Linked DNA regions of Homo sapiens: region 1 is linked to region 2. Evidence: promoter capture Hi-C in human tissues and cell types (Jung and others, 2019). All regions are on one chromosome and are shown on one strand. The core of a region is centred on a gene start or on the middle of the fragment in contact, and the rest is flanking DNA. Distances in the headings are between cores, read along the strand shown.

What was found. The method cuts DNA at HindIII sites, captures the fragments that hold promoters and counts their contacts. A contact is called where the count stands out against the background at its distance.
Region 1: a fragment that was not itself captured here is called in contact with the fragment with the promoter of SFXN5 in region 2 in 2 of the 25 tissues and cell types used here (liver and spleen).

The regions. Positions count from the first base shown.
Region 1 is chr2:72,977,212-72,982,322 of GRCh38, forward strand. The region is part of intron 10 of SFXN5 (sideroflexin 5); the gene reads right to left. Among named protein-coding and RNA genes, the nearest start is that of EMX1, 62 kb to the left of the region's middle. The HindIII fragment of the contact is 9,466 bases long and covers 1-5,111 here.
Region 2 is chr2:73,068,343-73,073,867 of GRCh38, forward strand. SFXN5 (sideroflexin 5) reads right to left here and starts at 3,370. Exons shown (of 14, transcript NM_144579.3): 1 at 3,262-3,370. The coding sequence starts at 3,363. RAB11FIP5 (RAB11 family interacting protein 5) reads right to left here. Exons shown (of 6, transcript NM_001371272.1): 6 at 5,040-5,525. RefSeq lists a silencer at 2,309-3,098 and enhancers at 3,239-3,288, 3,489-3,968. The HindIII fragment of the contact is 18,440 bases long and covers 1-5,525 here.

The DNA.
Region 1 (5,111 bases), core at 1,517-4,016, 92 kb before region 2:
CAGAGCAACACTGCGGGAAGCACCCTGGATGCCCCGCCTGAGACTCGCCCTTTGTAAAGTAATAGACTCCCTTATTATTTAAACCCTCAACAGTTTGTGTTGAGGGTTTCTGCTAATTTCAGCCAAAAAATCCATACGATGTATAAGAGCTTTAACAATTATTAAGAAAAAGATATGGTGATCAAAATCATAGAAAAACATATGAGTAGGCAATTCATAAAAGGCTGAAAAACTAATAAACATGAACTCAATCTCACTAATAATCAGGGTTAGGTTTCTAGATCTGAGGAAAAAAAAATCTGCAGGAGTTCTTTATAGGTTTTGGAGGCTAAACCTCATTGGTTAAAGGGTTTACAAACAGCTATTCCCAGCCTGTGACTTGTTTTTCTCACAACATGGTGCCTTCTGTCATATAGTTTAATATATAGTCAGATAAAGAATCCTTCCTGGTATATACATTTTGTGTTGTTAAGAAACTCTAGGTGGGGTGTGGTGCCTCACTCCTGTAATCCCAGCACTTTGGGAGGCCGATGTGAGTGGATCACTTGAGGTCAGGAGTTTGAGATCAACCTGCCCAACATGGAGAAACCCCATCTCTACTAAAATACAAAAATTAGTCGGGCATGGTGGCACACGCCTGTAGTCCTAGCTACTCAGGAGGCTGAGGCAAGAGAATCACTTGAACCAGGAGGCGGAGACTGCAGTGAGCCAAGATTGCACCACTGCACTCCAGCCTGGGCAACAGAGAGAGACTCTGCCTCAGAAAAAAAAAAAAAAGAAAGAAAGAATAAGGAAAAAAAAAAAAAAGAAACTCTAACCCTACTCCAGTGTTCATCTATATTTTCTTCCAAAGGTTTTAATTTTTTACTTATCACATTTAGGCCTTCAATCTATCTAGAATTTTTTTTTGTGGATGGTATGAAATAAGGATATCCTCTTGCTCTCTCTTCTGTTTGGAAACCCAAATGTCCAATAAAGTTAAGAAAAGGTTCCCAACTATACTGGGAATTGGAAAAATGCAAATTAAAATGAGAAATAAACCAGTTCAGATGAACGCATTTTTCTTTTTCTTTCTTTTTTTTTTTTTTTGAGATGGAGTCTCACTCTGACACCCAGGCTGGAGTGCAGTGGCACAATCTCGGCTCACTGCAACCTCTGCCTCCCGGGTTCAAGCGATTCTCCTGCCTCAGCCTCCCAAGTAGCTGCAATTACAGGCGCCCACCACCATGCCCAGCTAATTTTTGTATTTTTAGTAGAGATGGGTTTTCACCATGTTGGCTAAGCTGGTCTTGAACTCCTGACCTCAGGTGATCCACTCGCCTCAGCCTCTCAAAGTGCTGGGATTACAGGTGTGAGCCACCACGCCCGGCCCAGATGAACAAAAATTTTAAGAGATTGATAATATCAAATATTGAAGAGGATGTAGGGAAACAAAAATTCAGACCCTGCAGGTTGGGTAAATGCCCGTATGCCCACCTGGCAATATTTAATAAAGCTAGAAACGTATGTACCCTCTAATGTGTCCATTCCATGTCTGGGTACACACGCTAGCCTGGCGATTCCCAGCACAAGTGAAACCAAAGCTGAGGTAGGGCCCAGATCTGTTTTTTTTTTAAATTCCCCAGGTGATTATAATACAGATGAAGGTTTGAAAACTTTTGCCCAGGAGAAACTCTTACTCATGTGCACATGAGCTGTTTAGAGCACAAGGTTGTTTAGAGCAGGACTGTATAATAATGAGAGACTGAAAACAACCTAAATGTCCCCAATTAATCACCTGTGGATAGCCACACAGTACGAATGCCTATGGCAGCTGAAATGAATGTATATGTATTAACATAAATAAATTTCAAAACCACAATGAAAGGCAAGTTTCAAAAGGATATGTACAGTATGGTACAGTTAATATAAATTTTGAAAAATTCATGAACAATACAATTGATGGCTTATGGTACATGCACATATGCTAAAATATAAAACCTAAATGGTAAGCATACACTAACTCCAGGTCGGTGCCTTCTGTGGGGAGAGAAAGAAACCAGAATCAAGAAGGCAGAGGGCTTTGAGTGTATCTAACGTTCTCTTTCTCTATTTCTTCAATTTTCTATGTTAATAGAAAAATTTCATAATTAAAAAAACAGGCCGAGTGCAGTGGCTCATGCCTGTAATCCCAGCACTTTGAGAGGCCAAGGCGGGTGGATCACCTGAGGTCAGGAGTTCAAGACCAGCCTGGTCAACATGGCGAAACCCTGTCTCTACTAAAAACACAAAAATTAGCCAGGCATGGTGGCATGCACCTGTAATCCCAGCTACTTGGGAGGCCAAGACAGAAGAATTGCTTGAACCCAGGAGGCGGAGGTTGCAGTGAGCCGAGATCATGCCACTGCACTCCAGCCTGGGTGACAGAGCAAGACTCCGTCTATAAATAAATAAATAAAGAAATCATTTAAAAATAGCCATGGAACAAACTACTGTGGCTATTAAGGAGAAGTTACAATTTTATGACTGCCATGGAAAGACATCTAAAATTGACTGTGAGGTTAAAAAGCAGTTTACAGAATAGTATATATATATCTATATATGAACCCATTTGTATTAAGTTACATTTATATAGACATATTTATACACTACATATAGATATAATAGGCAGAGATTCATATACTTTTAGATGTTAACTTGAATTTGGAGGGATATATACTAAATGACTCGGGAGAGAGAAGTAGGATTGCTTATTCTATTATGTATTATCAGAAAGAAATAGAGCCATTTTCATTAAAACGAACAAACAAGCACTCTAGTAGCAAGCATGAGACTTCAGCTGCTATTCTGGCTCAAGACTGATGTTGGACTAAGTACTTCCATATTCCACTTCCTCTTCTGCAAGAAGTGGGAGGTAATGCTGGCCTCCCCTCCCCTCTTCTCTCTTCTCTCCTCCCTCCCTCTCTTCCTTCCTTCCACCGTTGTGGGCAACACAGTCAATGATTCAAATGGTGTAAAAGGGGAAATAATAAAAAGTAAGTCTCCTTCCCAACCCTAAACTTTACCCCCTCCCCAGAGGCAACCACTATAGCCAGGTTCTCATGTCCCTGCCCGGGAAGGTCTATGTATATACATGTAGGCATATTACCACCTTTACACACTCACACATACTCTCTCTCTCACACTCGAATCACAGCAGAATACAACCCCTCTGCCTTTAAGACAGTGATGATTATCAAATAAGGATGCATGCCCTCATATTTGCTTGATTTCACAAAAATCCCCATTATTCCACCTGAGAGGCAGTGCTAAGTAAGCAGCACAAATTTTCTCTTAAGTAGCTTGAGAATTTGGGGAGAGTTTCACAACCCATATTGAAGTGTCACCGACTCAGGATCGGGAATTTCTGGATTGAAAAATCAGCCTGTAAGTCTAGGTGTAGGCTGACTCGGAAGTTTGGAATCTCTTAATGTGATTCCTGCTAACACATCCATCTTTTTAAAAAGCCCCTTTTTATCACAGCTGCCTCTTAGCTTGAGATTCTTCAATGGTTCCTCATCAACCAAAGATAAAGCTCAAACCCCAAGCTAACACTCATAGCGACAACATGCCCTCCTCTGTTCCCCAGCAGGCCAGGCCAGCCCAGCCAGGCCCCCTGCCCCCTCCTGCATTCCCCTCCTGCATAGCCCCTCCCTCCCTCTGCATTACACCTCCCCACTTTCTCTGCCTCTGGGCTTCTCTACCTTCTGGATTTCAGGAATTATAAAACCCCAGAACTGGAAGGCCATTTACGCAACAAGCACTTATGGAGCACCTACGGTATGCCAGATCCTGAGCAAGCTGCTTGGAAACAGGTGCCTTGGTCGCGTGCGAGTGCCCCTCACAGCTTCTGGGGCCTGTCTACTAATCAGACATTTCCCTCAAATCCAGGAGTCAGGCAGCTCATTCCAATAACAGGCTCTCATTTTTTTCAGAAGATCCTGTCACTCTTATGGCGTTACCACTTATCAGAGCTACTCTTGACGTGTACAGCCAGAATTAAACAGACTCCTTTGTTCTTGGTGTTCTATCTTTAGTAATGCAGCTGAAATCTGAGTGAGCATCATCAGAGGCACACACCACACCAGGGACCCATTCTGAGCACACGGCACACGAGACCCCCGGGTCTCTGTCTTGAGAACTTCAGCCAAGTCAGGTCTTGACACCCTCACACTTGTGCACCTACATTTTTTGAACAGCAAGGCTTACATCAAACCTTGTGAGATCTCATCGGCCCACCTCGATGGATCTTTTTAGATCCTGGTGCTCTTGCCCATGAATTCACAATCCCTGCCAGGTTGGTGTCCCTGTTTTTTGAATATGAGCCACAGGCCTCCTCCATCCAAGGCATCAAAATAACTGAAGGGAATGAAACTGAAGACAGAGCCCTGGGACACTAGACACTTTCCTCTGGCTGCCTTGGACCCACTGCCTGTGTCCTCTTGGGGCCTGACACACAGCAGGGGCCCATGCCAGTTCTGAGGCTGCCACCAATTCTGGCACCCAGCCCAGCCCAACCTTCCATGGCTCCTCAAAATCCACAGCACCACGCCCACATATTCCTTTGATAACATGATCTAATTATCCCCGCCCTTTTCTCAACAAACACCATTTCCGTACATAATTCAGTTCATATTAGATTCCTAAAATCGTAGAGGTGATGGAAGGTGATTTAGAGAGATTATCGAATGGGTTTCATCCTCTATAAAACTTTATTGCCCTTATCACTGGAACTTTGTGTGTGTGTGTGTGTGTGTGTGTGTGTGTGCGTGCCATTTTGAACATCTAACCACCTCTTACCCCCAAAGAACAAGTTCCCTGATGGCAGGAATGTGCCACCCCTGATTGGGGCAGGAGGAACAGAGTGGAGCTGGAAGAGGATCAACATTTAGTAGGTGCTCATGCTACGCTGGGAAATTGACATGTTCAATCCCCATGAAAACTTTGCTTAGAGATACTAGTATCCATTTTATAGACGGGGCCATAATGGCCTGGAAGGGTTGGATAATGTGCCCAGGATGATCTGGAAAGGGGTGGGCCCATTGGTCATCCACCCTAGGCCTGCTGACTAAGAGTGGACCACAGTGATGGTA
Region 2 (5,525 bases), core at 2,120-4,619:
GGGCAGGACACAGAGATGTGGGCTGGGCCCTAAAGGAGCTCATCAACCCAGTACATATGTAGCCAACCTTTGTGTCTTTAGACTCACCTCCTTAGAGACACCCCAACTCTGGGATGTCTCAGCACTGATGAACCTTACACTGTCAAACATGACACCACTTGCAATTTTGTAAGATCCCTAAGGGACAATTTGGAGAAAAGTTGGTCCACCTCCCCAGTCACAACCTTACAAGTCAATTTAATTCAAGTCCGCAAAGCCCTACTGAATTGTCTCCAGGATATTCATGTATATAACAAATCTTCATTAAGCACCTCTTAACTGCCAGGCACTGTGCTGAGCCTTGGAGAGTCAACAGGGAGTAAAGACAGGCACAGCCCCCACTTCTGCAAAGTCCATAGTCAACAGAGAGACACAGATGGCAAAGAAATACTCATCACAAATCAATGTATACACCGAGAAAGGTACTTTGCAGTAAGCGAACACTCAAAAATCCAACCTGGGAGTGCAGGAGGCTTCTCCAAGAAAGTGATGCTTCATGGATACACCAGGGATGAGGAAGAATGGGAACAAGAGTTGGGGGTAGAGGAAGAGGTGATGTTCCAAGCAGATGGCCCAGTGGTGGGAGGGAACGTGGTGGGTTCAGAGGCTGAAAAGCAGCCAGTGTGATGTGAAGGAGGGTGCGAAGTGTGGGTGGGTGGGTGGTGGGATTCAAGGAAGAAGTAGTCAGTGGGGTGGGCCATGCATACTTTGGGGGCCCCTTCAGAAGTGAGGTCTTTATCTCAGAAGCAGGGGAAGCCATTGGAGGGTATTTAAATCTACAAGGGCGTAGGGAGTCCCTTGATCAGATCTGCACTGTTGGGACTCTGACTTGCAGAAAGAGGAAGGACTGGAAGAGGGCCAGAGTGGAAGCAGGGAGACCTGTTGTGAGGCTACTGCAGTGACCCAGGAAATAGACGATGGGGGCTTGGTCTAGGATTCTGGCAGTAGAGATGGGTGGACTTGAGAGCTGTGTAAGAGGTAAGATCACTGGGCCTCTGGTTGCATTTAAAGGGTGAGGGAGAAGAAGGAAAGAACACAGGCGGCTCCCAGGTTTCTGGCTGCATTGATTGGGTGGCAAGTTGGGCTGTTTGCAGAGCCAGGGAGCCATGCGGGAGGAGCAGATATGGAGGAAAGAGAAGATCCTTAACATGGATGAATCACATGCAACGTGCTTTATGCAGGCCACTATGCTGGAGGAGGGGAGCTTCAAAAGTGCATACAACAAACACTTTTACTGCCTTCAAGAGCAGTGCCAAAAAGAAGTACCGCTATGGCTGCAGGAACAGGGTAGCCTAAAATGTTTATCTATGGCTCTAGAGCAGTGCTCACAGCACAGGGCTCAGTCATATAAGCCACTAAGACGTATTTGATAAATGTCTGTTAGGTCACTGAATGTCCCTAGTGCCACATACAGATAACAGACACCAGGACAAAAAGAAAAAGAAAAAAAAAAAGGAAACACAAATCTTTTACTCGGCACATTACTATATGCCTAACCTGTCTCCATCAGGGTAAGACAGAGGCAGAGAAGGGCAAGATCAGCCCCTTCTTGCAAAAGGCCTACAGGGGGTTTGAGGAAACCAAGTCGTCACACAGCAAACATTTAGAAGACCACAGGGCAGACTGTATGGAGAGCTATGAGGATCTGACTCAGGTGGCCAAAGAGATGTGCAGGAGGAAGCCTGCGATCTGATGGGACCAGAGAAGAAGGGAGCAAGTGTTTGCCAGAGAGGCAGGCCCGACTGAGCCTTTAAGAACGAGCAGAATGGGGGTGGGAGCGGGGACAGGCAATGTAATAAGGTCACTCAAGTCCAGGCAGGGACACCCCGACACTCTCGCCCTAGATGGCCTCCTACACTGGAAGGAAGATGCCAGTCTCGCCTCGGATACCTACATGCTGAGATGGCCTACTTTTAAAAGGAATTAAAGTCCTGTTAAGAAACACTGGGGACATTTTTTTCAGACGGCTCAGGAGCCAAGTTCCCTAATTATCAGCAAAGCTCGGGGCACCCCCTTGCTGGAACCAGTCCCCTTCCACCACAACAACAAAAAAAGAAAAAAAAAGCCACCGCACCGACCTTAGCACAATTTCCTTTCTTCCTTCAAAGTTCTTTTCTGGCCGCCTCGGCTGCCGCCCACCCCTGGCAAGCCCCGGTTCACTTCAGCGGTCTCTCTGCCTGTTTCCTAATAAATTCCGTCTCATTGGTGCGGGAGGCGCGGGAGCCCGAGGGTCTGCGGCGCGGGAGCGGCCCCTCCCCGGCTCCGGTCTCCGGGCCCAACCAGGCGCCCGGGCTCCGCGTTCCACCCCCGCCTCCGCAGTCTAGGGCCGAGTCGGCGACGCCCCAGAGGAGGTCCCGGAGGGAAAGGACCCCTGTCGCCGTGCCCCGAAGAGCCTGAGCGGGTGTGCCCAGAGCCAGTCCCCGGCGGCGCGGGGGCCCGGGCGCGGGAGACCCTCCGCGGAGAACACAGCGAGGAAGAGGCTGGGGGGGGGTTCCCAGGCGGCAGCCCCTCGGAGGGACGACGGCCCCAGGGGATGACACAGCGTTTCCCCCGCACGCCCTGGCTGCGTCCCCTCAGGGCATCGGCCGGCTTGCTGCGTCAGCGAATCCTCAGCCCGAGATGGAGAGCAGGGACGGGGGACGCCGGACCGCCGCTCGCCTCGGCACTCGCCCCCTCAACCTGCTGCGCGCGCCGAGCCCGGCTTGGGGGCCAGGGCTGGGGAGTGACCGCGGGGCGCGACGCTGCCCGGCGGCACCGCCAGCAGCTCGAAAGGAACGTCAGTCCCCACCGGGGGAAAAAGTTAGAAGGCATCCCGGCCACGCCAACTTCCCATCCAGGGCCAGACTAGAACTTTGCGTCCCGGGCGGGCAGCTGCACAACCCGGAGCGACCCTGAGCAGCCGCTCGAAGCCGGGCGCTCGGGACCTTGACCGCAGCCGCCGGTGGCCAATCACAGGGCGCCGCGGGCGGGAAAGGCTAGAGGGCGCGGGCAGTCGGGGAGTGACGGCGCCAAGGGCCAATAGGAAGCCAAGATGGGAGTCCGCGCCCGCCCCGTTGACCAATGGGAAAAGGGTGACTGTGACCGAGGTTCCCCCCCTGGCGCTAGCTGCAGGCTCCGCTGGCCGCGGGTGGGAGACCCTTGGGCGGAAGGGGACTTTGGAGGGGAGTTTGCTCGTCCTCTCTTTGCCACCCGCCGGCCCGCAGACCACAGCCCGGTCCTCACCTGCTGGAAGCGGGGTTTGCCCAGTTGGAAAGGAGGTGCATCGCTCGAGGCGCTAGCGGCACTAGCCGCCGCCGCCGATGCTGTAGTCGCTGTATCCGCCATGGCCACTGACGCCCGCAATCTCCGGCCCTTTTAAAATGTCCCTCCTCGGCCCCCGCCACAGCTGCCTCTCCCGATTGGCCCTAATCAACCGCAGCGAGCGGGAGGCGCAAGGCGTTGTGGGGAGTGTAGTTTTTCGCGTCGCGGCGCTTACAACCGTAGACTGCGGAGAGTTGCGGCCGTCCGGAGAGGTCTCGGTGCCCGCTGTCCGCGTTGCAAGGTGCAAGGTCGGCAGTCCAGGAAAGGTGTTCCTGTACGACGACCACGGGCCACCCCTCGCTGCTTAGTTGCCCCCAGAAGTTAGAGTTGCTGCCGTGGGCGTCGCTCCTGGGGCCAGGCAGCGCAGAAGGGTCCCATTCAAGGGGGAACCTGGGACCAGATGGGCAAAGACTCCAGGCGGAGTAGGGTTAACCTCGGAAGGCTTTCTCCAAGGAGTTGCACTGCGGACCTTCTCGTACTTTCCTCCGTCGCCACCCTGCCCACTCGTCCTGTGCTCTCCGGCTGCCCTGACACTCAGTTCCTGGAGCATGCTGGGGCCTGCCCGCCTCCCGACCCCTGAACATTCTGTACCCGGAAGACTAAATCTTCGCCTGATGCTGGCTTTCTGGCTTTAGCCTAAACATTGCATTTCCCAGTCCATCACTCTGCTTGCACAAAATCCCACAGAGGCTCCGTGGCACCCAGCACTTCTCTTTTGCACTCACAACTACTTACTGTTCTGGACAGTCTTTCTTACTGTAAAGTTCACAGGGCAGGGGCTATGACTTTTTGATTCACTTCAGTTTTCAGAGCCAGACATAAAAGGGCTCACAGTAGAGACTCAAATAAGTGTTGGCTGTGAGTTCATCAGTGGGGGATTAAGAGCCCTGGCAGCTTTCACCTTGTCTGGCCAACCAAGGAAGATCCCTCCTGGGCCTAATTCCTGGGCAGGAGGAGAACTTGGGACTAGGGTGGGTGGGGAGGGTGTTAGGTAAGGGGGAGTATTACAGATTGTGGAGTAAGGATCAGTATGGATAATAAACACATACAGTTGTAGAATGGATTAGCTGAAGATTCCCAGCTGAATTACCTGGTCAGTGAGCCAGACTTCGGGAGCTGCCTGTTTTGCCCAAGATGACAGTAGAAATATTTGGTCTTCTAGGGAACTCCACTTTGGGTCTCATTAGTCTCGTGGTGGAGTGCAGGGTTGGCTCATGTCTGCCAGTGTTTCTGGACACTACATGAGCTGTAGCAGTCAAAGTTTTTCATCCTCTAGTAGTTGAACCACAAGAAACACTTTTCATAAAGCTAGGGGGAGATTCTAGCTAGCCACGAAGAACAATTTGTATCTTGGATTTGTATCTTATCTTAGAGATTCTATCTAGCCATGAAGAACTATTTGTATCTTGGATTTGTATCTTATCTTCCCCTGCTAGACCATGCAACTTGAGAATAGGAATCCATTTCTTACCCTCTGTATTACCAATAAATGGGCCCATCTTAGGTGCGCAATAAATGTGGGTACCCTGGGAGTCAGAAAAGACTAAGTTCAGGCTGCTGGGCAACACTGTGCTGCTGCCCCCTTATAAGGGGCAGGGACAGTGTCATCCAAGAATCCCATCACCTTGATTTAAGGTGCTTTCTCCCACAGCAGCCTCCTGTAACTGTTCATTCCAAAACAGGAACACAACAGAGCCACCTGCAGTACATGAATGTTTTATTCTTCATAAAGTGCTTAAAACATGAAGAACAAGCTCTTTATAAAGAGCCTTAACTAGGAAGACAAACAGCAAAGCAGAACCATGCCTGCTCCCTGCCCAACCCACCTGCAACTTTCCTCCAAGTGTGGCTAGGAGAAGAAACATCAACAAGGACCCTGGGCTTCGATTCAAAAACTCCTCTGAAGCCATCCATGCCCTGGGCATTAGGGAGGCCCACAAAGGTCAGGGCCAGGGCTGGGAGTGAATAAAGCCCAGAGGAATCCCCAGTAGGGGGGGTGACTCCCCCTCTCTCAGAAAAGATACTTACTTCTCTAATACCCAATGACCCCCAAAAGCATGACTGAAACCCTGGGGACCAGTGGATACTTTTCTCAGATTTGATGAGTGGAGTTTAAGGTAGGTAACGTTACAGGGGCTTTCCTCCATGTGTGGCGCTCCTCTGCTCCATCCTGGCAGCAGACAGAC